2 separate regions of the Homo sapiens genome follow, and region 1 is linked to region 2. The links are contacts of gene promoters, found by promoter capture Hi-C in blood cells and fetal thymus (Javierre and others, 2016). All regions are on one chromosome and are shown on one strand. The core of a region is centred on a gene start or on the middle of the fragment in contact, and the rest is flanking DNA. Distances in the headings are between cores, read along the strand shown. Region 1 has its middle 14 kb from the start of MIR3649. Region 2 holds the start of CACNA2D4 (calcium voltage-gated channel auxiliary subunit alpha2delta 4).

What was found. The method cuts DNA at HindIII sites, captures the fragments that hold promoters and counts their contacts. A CHiCAGO score of 5 or more calls a contact.
Region 1: a fragment that was not itself captured here is called in contact with the fragment with the promoter of CACNA2D4 in region 2 in 1 of 17 cell types (neutrophils); the score reaches 5.9 in neutrophils.

What each region holds. Positions count from the first base shown.
Region 1 is chr12:1,672,219-1,677,264 of GRCh38, forward strand. No RefSeq gene overlaps it. Among named protein-coding and RNA genes, the nearest start is that of MIR3649, 14 kb to the left of the region's middle. The HindIII fragment of the contact is 5,712 bases long and covers 1-4,871 here.
Region 2 is chr12:1,915,445-1,920,811 of GRCh38, forward strand. CACNA2D4 (calcium voltage-gated channel auxiliary subunit alpha2delta 4) reads right to left here and starts at 3,208. Exons shown (of 38, transcript NM_172364.5): 1 at 2,803-3,208. The coding sequence starts at 3,029. RefSeq lists an enhancer at 1,281-1,857. The HindIII fragment of the contact is 3,790 bases long and covers 1-3,705 here.

The DNA.
Region 1 (5,046 bases), core at 766-3,265, 240 kb before region 2:
AGTGAGCTGAGATCGCGCCACTGCACTCCAACCTGGGGGACACAGCGAGACTCCGTCTCAAAAAAAAAAAACAAAAAAAAGCTGTGTACTAATAACTATTAAAGCTGGAGTATAGATACAGGGAGCTAGCTCTATTTTTGTATGTGTTTGACATTTTTGTATGTGTTTGTGTTTGAAATTTTGTATGTGTTTGAAATTTTACATGTTAAAGGATATAGAAAAAAGTAAAAGGTCCTGGGGCTCAATGTTCACCCTGCAGCTGACGAGTTGTGTCACTTTTTTTTTTTTTTTTGAGATGGAGTCTTGCTCTGTCACCCAGGCTGGAGTGTAATGGCGTGATCTCAGCTCACTGCAACCTCCGCCTCCCGGGTTCAAGTGATTCTCCTGCCTCAGCCTCCGGAGTAGCTGGGATTACAGGTGTGCACCACCACGCCCAGCTGATTTTTGTATTTTTAGTAGAGAAAGGGTTTCACCATGTTGTCCAGGATAGTCTCCATCTCTTGACCTCAACTGATCTGCCCGCCTTGGCCTCCCAAAGTGCTGGGATTACAGGTGTGAGCCACCGCGCCAGGCCCGAGCTGTGTCACTTTTTATAAGTCACTTCCTTCCTCTGCACCTTGGTTTCTTTCTCTCTAAAATAATGCAGTTTGACTAGACAATCATTTAAGATCCCTTCCTGCTTTGACAGGGTGAGATATCATTAATCTTTTGTGTTGTTTCTGTTATTTTGTTTTTTACTAAGATAAAATTTACATCCCATATAATTTGCCTTTTTTTTTTCTTTTTTTTTTTGAGATGGGGTCTCACTCTGTCGCCCAGGCTGGAGTGCAGTGGCACAGTCTCAGCTCACAGCAACCTCTACCTCCCAGGTTCAAGCGATTCTCCTGCCTCAGCCTCCTGAGTAGCTGGGATTACAGGCGCCTGCCCCAACGCCTGGCTAATTTTTGTATTTTTAGTAGAGACGGGGTTTCACCATGTTGGCCAAGCTGGTCTTGAACTCCTGACCTCAAGTGATTTGCCTGCCTCGGCCTCCCAAAGTGCTAGGATTACAGGCGTGAGCCACTGTGCCCAGCTGTGAAGTGGTATCTTGTTGTGATTTTGACTTTCATTTCCCTAATGACTAATGATATTGGACATTTTTCATGCCCTCTTATAGATCTTCTTTGAAGAAAAGTCTATTCAAATCTTTTGCCCATTTTTAGATTGAGTTATTTATTTATTTATTTATTTATTTTGAGACAGAGTCTCAGTCTGTCTTCCAGGCTGGAGTGCAGTGGTACAATCTCAGCTCACTGCAACCTCTGCCTCCCAGGTTCAAGTGATTCTCCTGCCTCAGCCTCCCAAGTAGCTGAGACTGCAGGTGCCTGCCAGTATGCCTGGCTAATTTTTATATTTTTGTAGAGATGGGGTTTCACCATGTTGGCCAGGCTGGTCTTGAACTCCTGACCTGTGACCCGCCCTCCTCAGCCTCCCAAAGTAATGGGATTACAGGTGTGAGCCACCACACCCAGCCGAGTTATTTATCTTTTTATTGTTGAGGTATAGGAGCTCTTTATATATTCTAGATATAAAACCCTTATTAAATACATGATTTGTAAATATTTTCTCCCATTTTGGGTTGTTTTTTCGCTTTCTTGATACATAACAGCCTTTACTTTTGGTGAAACCTAATTTATCTAATTATCCTTGGTTGCTTGCATTTTAGATATTATACCTAAGAAATGATTGCCTATTCCAATATCACAAATATTTACCCCTATATTTTCTTCTAAGAATTTTTATAGTTTTTGCTCTTACATTTAGGTCTTTGATCATTTGAGTTTATTTTTGTATATAGTGTGAAGGTGTGAATTTAGGGGGTCTAAATTCACTATTTTGCATATGTATATCTGTTGTCCAAGCACCATTTGTTGAAAAGACTGACCTTTCCCCACTGAACGGTCTTGCCACTCTTGTCAGAGATTGACCATGGATGTATCAGCTTACATCTGGACTCTCCATTCTGTTGCATTGAAATATACATGTTTATTTTTATGTCACTACCACACTGTCTTCATTAGTGTAGCTTTAAAGTAAGTTTTGAAATTGGGAAGTGTGAGCCCTCTAACTTTTATCTTCTTTTTCAAGATTGTTTTGGTTATTCTGGGTCCTTGCTTTTCCATGTGAGTTTCAGGATCACTTTGTCTATTTCTGCAAAAAAAAAAAGTAGTTGGAATTCATGAATCTTTAATTCACACCAAACTCCTCACTACAATGTCCTCTATGAGAACTAGCACGTTGTCTAACTTGGTCATTGTTGTATCTCCAACACCTAGCACAGGCCTGACCTAGAGTAAGCTCTTAATATTTAATGAATGAATGGCAAGAAAAAAAAGCACAGTTTAGAGAATAGCAATAAAATGTACCCAAAGGAACATTACCATACCTCAGAAGCCACCTGCATGCCACTCCATGATGAACTTCTCCATCATTTCTGTTTTTTTGAGACAGAGTCTCACTCTGTCACCCAGGCTGGAGTGCAGGGGCGTGATCTCGGCTCACTGCAACCTCTGCTTCCCAGGTTCAAGCAATTCTCCCACCTCAGCCTCCTGAGTAGCTGGGACTACAGGCTCACACCAGCACACCCGGCTAATTTTTGTATTTTTAGTAGAATCGGGGTTTCGCCATTTGGCCAGGCTGGTCTTGAACTCCTTATCTCAGGTGATCCACCTGCCTCGGTCTCCCAAAGTGCTGGGATTACAGGCGTGAGCCACCGCGCCTGGATCCCTCCATCATTTCTTTGCTTTTAAAAAAATAACAAACTGTGGCCAAGCAGAGGCAGGTGGATCACCTGAGGTCAGGAGTTCGCCACCAACCTGACCAACATGCTAAAACCCCGCCTATACTAAAAATACAAAATTAGCCAGGCGTGGTGGCACATGCCTGTAATCCCAGCTACTCGGGAGGCTGAGGCAGGAGAATTGTTTGAACCCGGGGCGGGGGCGGAGGCTGCAGTGAGCCAAGATCACATCACCACACTCCAGCCTGAGTGACAAAGCAAGACTCCGTGTCAAAAAATAAATAAATAGGCCGGCATGGTGGCTCAGGCCTGTAATCCCAGCACTTTAGGAGGCCGAGGCGGACGGATCATGACGTCAGGAGATTGAGACCATCCTGGCTAACATGTGAAACCCTGTCTCTACTAAAAATACAAAAAATTAGCTGGGCATGGTGGTGGGCACCTGTAGTCCCAGCTACTTGGGAGGCTGAGGCAGGAGAATAGCGTGAACCCAGAAGGTGGAGGTTGCAGTGAGCCGACATCACACCACCACACTCCACCAGCCTGGGCGACACAGCAAGACTCTGTCTCAAAAAATAAAAATAAAAATAAAATAAAATAAATAAATCAATAGCACCTTATTTATTTATTTGGGTTATTTCCAGGCTTTTGCTATAATAAATCATGATGTTGTTACATATTTCCTTATGTCCCTCATACAGGAGGTTCTATGCCTAGCAGTGGAATTCTGGGGTCTTAGGATATGCACGTATTCAACTATACCTGGTAATCCAAACCTTGCTCCAAAGTGGGTATACAAATTTACATTTCCACCCAAAGTAGGTGAGAATTATTACCATTGTTCTTTCCTTCTGGGTTCAGTTTTCTTCTTCTGCAAGTATACACTTTAGCTGTTTTTTTTGTTTTTTTTTTTTCAGAGAGGAACCGAATGTTAAACTCTCCTGGTCTTTGTTTTATTGAAAATGTCTTTATTTTATTGAAAACATCTTTATTTTGTTTGCACTCTTGAGTGAGAACTTCTATGAATATAGAATTCTAGATTGATAATGTTTTTGTTTTTTTCTCAATACTTTGAAAATACTATTCCATTATCTTTGGGCCTTTATTGTTGGATTTAATTGTAGTTCTTTTGTCTTCTGTCTCTGGTAGCTTCTAAGATTTTTGTCTGTGGTGCCTGCAATTTCACCATGATACGTCTAGGTGTAAATTTCTTCTTGTTTATTGGTTTGGCACTTGTCATGATTTCTGAGTCTGAGGATTCATATCTTTCATCAATTCTCGGAATTTTTTTTTAATTCTGGGAAATTATCAGTGATGATCTCTTGAATATTTATGATCCTCCGTTCTCTCCCTTTTCTCCTTCTGGATTACCTATGAGTGTTACAGTAGACATATTATCCTCCTTGCTTCCAAATCTCTCTCTCTTTTTTTTTTCCCTAGACAGAGTCTTGCTCTGTCACCCAGGCTGGAGTGCAGTGGCGTGATCTTGGCTCACTGCAACCTCTGCCTCCCAGGTTCAAGCAATTCTTCTGCCTCAGCCTCCCGAGTAGCTGGGACTACAGGTGTGTACCACCACGCCTGGCTGATTTTTGTATTTTTAGTAGAGATGGGGTTTCACCATATTGGCCAGGCTGGTCTCAAACTCCTGACCTAAAATATCCACCCGGCTCGGCCTCCCAAAGTGCTGGGATTACAGGCGTGAGCCACGGCACCCGGCCGCCAAATCTCTATTTTCTGTTTCTCATTTTATGCTGTCTTCTGGGTAAATTCAACCAGCTGATTTGGCTGTGTCGAATCTGCCGTTTAACTTATTCACTAAGTTTTATTTATAATTTCTGGAAGTTTGATTGTTTTGCATTTCTACCTGTTCTTATTTCATTCACTCTTGTTTATTCTTGCATTTCTTCTTTTACACATTTTAAATGTGTAAAAATACACATACACATTAAAAATACTAACTTTATCGTATATCCTCTATCATATTGTTCTAAAAGTAAACCTTAAGCTCACATAAGGCACAGGCTCATGGTTATTAATTCCTCAGGGAAGGTTTTTTTTTTTCCCCTTGTCCCCTACCTTCTAGAGCAAATGAAGCTTGAATTCACAGGTACTGTAGTGGTCTTGGTTCCCTTTGTGTTTCAGGCACCTAGTTATTTAACTTTCTTTCTTGAGTGTTCAGCTTTGTATTTATTTTAGTTTTTGGAGACAGAATCTCATTCTGTCACCCAGGCTGGAGTGTAGTGGCATATCCATAGCTCACTGCAACC
Region 2 (5,367 bases), core at 1,958-4,457:
GAGGACCCTGAGGACAAAGGACAACCTGCCTGGCCACAGCTGTGGCCTCTCAATAAATCGTTCCCTCCAGTGCACTCCACTCAAAGCCACTGGGGGCTGCCGAACCCTCTGTTGAAACCTCAGAGAACGCGTGAGGCAAGGGCACAGCAGGAAAAGGCTCTGAGCTGCCACTGCTGAGCCTGAGGGCAGGGCAGGCCAGGAGGGCATAAGGAGGCCACACCTCACCCTCTGTGTAGGCAGCCTAGTGGGGAGCCCCGACCTCTCGCCCATGCCCCAGAAATGCACCACAATCCCACCATCTTGGCCAGGCTGGTGGGGTCCTGGGGGCAGGTACACAGGGCTGGGGCTGAGCCTCTCCAGATGGAGCGGAAGTGGTTTGCCTGTGCGATCCTTTCAAGATCAGCAGTCATCACTCAACCAATGTTTATCAAGGTCCTACCATGTGGCAGCCTGGAGCCACCCCACAGTCCCCACCCTTGCAGGGACAGCTTTGTCATGCGGGTAGCATAGTACATGTTTGAAGGTGCCCATGAAGGTTGGGGAGGGGTAGTGGTATAAGGGAAGGCTTCCCTGGGGAGGGAGATCTGAGCTCCAGGTTAGAAGTTTGGTAGAGGTTAGCCTGCAAAGGGGTCTGGGAGAGGATTCTAGGTCGGGAGTACAGAAGAGCTTGGAGGAGTAAAACGTGACTTCCGGGCTTCCAGTGTGGGTTGTTGACCTGATGGTGTTGTTACTGAATACAATTAAGACTATCAGGAAGGGCAGGGGGAATGAGCTGAGGAGGGTGAAAAGTGATGTGTGTACCTTGGGCTCTGCTGAATGTGAGGTTCCCGTTGTAGAGCTACCAAGTACCATTGGGAAGGTTGTGCACTGCACAACTCTAGAAGGCACCAATTGTGTTTTACCTTGAAAGACACAAATCTGAATTTAAAACCTCACATGATGTTTAGGAAAAGCTGCCCATAAGCACTGGGTATGTGTCTAGTAGGTAGAGACAGGGCTGGGAGTCATTGATGCAAAGGTAGGGATTGAAATTCTGAGGGCAGGAGGGCTCTCTCAAGGAGAGTGTGCAGCGTGAGATCTCTGAGCGTCGACAGCTGCTGGGGAGCACCCCCCACCTCCGGGGCAGGCAGAGGAGGAGGAGCACTTGAGGACAGCAGAGATAAGCCGTGCCCATGCAGGCCCAGCGGAGCGCAGTGCCACGGAAGTCAAGGACTGGGATAAAAGAAGACGGGGGCTTGTGTGTCCCAAGCAACAGGGTCTGGGGTGACAAGGCCAGGAATGTCTCCTGGATTGGGCATGAGGAGGGCTTTGGGAACCCTGTGGAAACAGACTTGGGAGGAGGTGGAAGCCCGGCTGGAGGGAAAGACTGAGAAGAGAGGTTCGGCGGGAGTGAGGACAGGTGGGGCCAAGTCCTGGGCAGGCAGATGAGGCTGTGTGCAGGCTGTTGTCTCTGGCAGCACCCAGGGCTTCTGCATAGATGGCCGCTGGGGCCCCCCTCCCTGAAGGCCTGGATTCCAGCCACCCCGACTTGGCCCTCAGCCCACTCCTGGAGTTGGCCCTCTCCTATCAGCTGGTGTGTGTTCTGGGGATGAAAATTGTTCTGAACATCTCCTGCAGCAACAGATAGCGTTACGGGCTGGCGGCGGGTGTAATGGTGAAAGTGCAGTCCAGGCTGACAGGAGTTCAAATCCCAGCACCTTCACTTCCTGGCCTTGTGAACTTGGGGAAGTCACCTGACCTCTCGGGGCCTCTGTTTCCTCAGCTGCAAAATAGGGATAAAAATAAGCCCCCACTGAATGGCTCTGCAAACTAACGGTGTCATTTGTGAAGCGCCCAGCTCCGTGCCAGGCAGGGAACAAGGAGAGCTATGCGGCTCGATGGGAAACGATGCTGCCTAATCCACTGGTCAGCAAAGGCTAAGCACAGGCACGGTGTGTCATTTAGGCTCCCTGTCCCCACTCCTGCTAAGACATGCAGTTGGCAGGTGGCTCTGTTGGTGGCCTGGCTATGGTGCTGGGCTCAAGCGGCTGGAGTAAACAGGATGGGGTCTGTAGCACCTACAGTCTAGAAGGCTCTGCTACCCACATGTATTGGAAATTTCCTTCCTAGGACCACCTGAGCTAGGGCCTAAAACACAGACACCCCAGAGAGGTTGCACAGTAATTTACATGTACACCAAGGTGCACATGACTGATACCGGGTTCTTTCCTGGAGCCGGTCTTAATGGCCGGCTAGAGAATCAAGGTTGGAAGGAGGCAGAAAGGTGTAGAAAGGGAAGACTGCGGCCACCAAAATCCATTTTTTTCCCCAGTTCCTGGACAAGCCACCTCCTGTGCGCATGAGACGTTCTGTGGGTTCAGAACTGCTTCCCCTTTTTGGAATGTCAAAATACGCATTTCCTGCCAAATGCTTCGGGGAGCTGCGATGCTGAGATAACCCGGCTCCTCCAGGCTGCCTCATCTCAGCGATTATCCTGAAGGAGCACCCGCCCTTCAGGTGTCCCAGAAGCTGCTTGTCAGGCCAGGAAGACAGCAGCCCTGATGATCAGTTCTTCCTAAAGCCATCCGGCTCCTGGGGAGAGGCAGGTGGGACTCCAGAACTCACAGAGCTTTTGGGAGGAGAAAGAGGAGGCCGGAGAAGCAAAGGGCTTTACAGCAAGAGAGTGGTCAGTCGCAGCCACTGGGGAAAAGCCCAGAGGGAGGGCAGGGGCGGGAGGAGTGGGCAGAGGATGGAGGCCCAGCCCGGGAAGAAAGTGGGAAAGGGTGACCGGGTTTTTGGGGTGGGGTTGAACGTGATGCTTACGTTTCCAGAGGAATCTTGGCCTGTCCCCACGCAGGGGACAGGGAGGTGCCTAGAAGCAGCAGCCACAGGAGGGCCGAGGTCTTCTGCACAAAGGCCCAGGCCACGGGCATTGGCTGGAGGGGAATCCAGCGGCTGCTGGAGCTGGGGTTTGCGAGGAAGTTGGGAGTTGCAGGCATGGTGGGCCTGGGGTTGGGGAGGGGAAGGAGGGCAGAGCAGCCACAGACCATGAGCTCTGTCTGCCTTCCTCCCAGACCCCAGGACGCCCCAGGCCTTTGTCTTCCGTGCCTTGGCGAGCCTGGGGTCTCCAGCCTCTCAGTCCTGGGTGGGGAGGGCTTCTCTCTGCCCCACAGCTGCAGCTCACAGAAGAGTCGCCCCACCTAGCAAGCAGGCCTCGGAGACAGGGACTGGGGGAGAGGCTGTGGCAACATGAAACCCTTTAATCCGCTGGCCTCTCCTCTAATCCTCTCCTGACAGCAGGGAGGGGGTGGCAGGGGGTGGGGAGCTGCCTCCCAAGATTACCACAACTGCAGCTGGTTCCCTCAGGGCTATAGTGCACCCCTCTGCTTTAAAGAGGCAGCCCCGTTCCTGTGGAACCACCTTCTGGACCCAGGAAGGGCTTGCTGTGACTATGGCCAGAGGACAGCAGCTGAGTTTGCACAGTACTCTGATTGACCCACAAATCTCTTGTTGACCCTGAGGTGGGGGTGTGTCCTCATCCCTGCTTGGCAGAGGCTCTTGAGGCCCGGGGAGTCCCAGGGGCAGAGCTGGGACTCTGGCTGGTGTTTCCAGGCCTGGTGCCTTTGGGACAGGTCATAGGTCATAGGTGAAGTCAGTGGACCCACGCCTCCACATCTCAGCTGCTCGTGGGCGGGGCTGGGGACGCATTTGCTGTGCAACTGATGAAGCTTCAGGACCCCTGAATCCACAGACTCCCCCCTTTCCCGGAGAGGCCCTAGCAATGTGTTCCTGTGGCCAAATGTTTTTGTAAAATATGCAAAAGTTGAGATAGTTTAACCATAACCGGTTGAGACTGTCTGTCTCTTTCCATCCCAACTTCTCTTCCGTCTGAGGGACTCTTAGTTGGATGATGTTTGGGTGGCTGAGGGCACTTGGGGGATCCAGTTAAGAGGAAAGTGAGCTGGGGAAACACTTAATCTGGGCTTAGTGGGATATGCTGACATGGTTCACAGTGACTTCTTTGTACAGAGAAGTTACCTCCAGCTGAGTGTAGGCAGGGCTTCCAGGAACACTCATCCCACAGGACATCCCACCAGCAGATGCAGCAAGAGAGGCTGGGCCGTGATGTGAGCGCACGCTGTCACACCCACCCTGGCCATGTGTGGTGGGGAGGGCAAAGTAACAGTCAGGAGCTCATCTGCAGAAAATCTACAAAAAGCCACACAGGTAACATCGTTGGTGGAGGATTTGGTTCTCACCAAGGCCTGGCCAGGACAGAAGTTCTCTCCTGTTAGGAAAATAGTGGATATTGAAAGAATATAATTACACCGTACATTGCTTTGTGTTCTGATGAGAGTTACACAAATTAGAATTGATCAAAATTCTTGTGTTGTGAGCCCAAACCAGTAGTAGTACCACATGGGTTCTCCGGGGGTGAAGTCATAGATTTTATGCAGTCCCCGTATCAGATTATTTTCTTAGTGTAACTGGTGCACTGTGTCTTCACAAAATCTGGTGGTTCCAGCAAAATGGTAAGCAAAATTGCCACCAACGCAGAGAAATGCTTGCAGAAGCAAGTGTTCTGATGACAAAACTCCTACACAGATTCATCAATAAGTCAGTGCTGTAGTATCAGAGTAATCTGGTGGCACAGTTTTGTGGCTGAATACAATGTATTTTTTAAAGGCATCTAAATGATTCCTATGAATGCCTTAATTTCACATAAATTTTGTACATGTTTTGAGGATTACAAATCAAACACATTTAGAAAAAATACTACAGAGGCACACTGGGCAGTCAATACATAAAAAGAATGTAACTTCTCTAGGTTTTGTGAATTTGGTGGAATTCACCAGCTTCTTAAAATTTGTAATTTGGAATGATTTTTAAAACTGAATAAATATTCACCTTTTTTCAACTTTTTTATTGTGGCCCAATATTTATTGTGGCATAAAATGTGCCATCTTAATCATCTTTTTAAGTGTACGGTTTAGTGTAATTAAATACATTAATCATGTTGCTCCACCTTCGCCGCCATCTATCTCTATAATTCGTTCATCTTGTAAAACTGAAACTCTGAACCCATTAAACACTAGCTCCCGTTCCCTCCTCCCCCAGCCGCTGGCGGCCACCACTCTCCTTTCTGTATCTCTGATGTTGACGGTTCTAGGGACCTCACAGAAGGGAAGTCATCACATAGTTGTCCTTCCATGACTGGCTCATTTCACTTAGCACAATGTCGGTAAGGTTCACCCACGGTGCCGCGTGTGTCAGAATTTCCTTACTTTTTGGGGGTGACCAATGATGGGTTAATATTTCATTGTGTGGATAGACCTCATTTTGTGCATCCGTTCCTCTATCGATGGACCCTGGGGTGGTGTCCTCCTT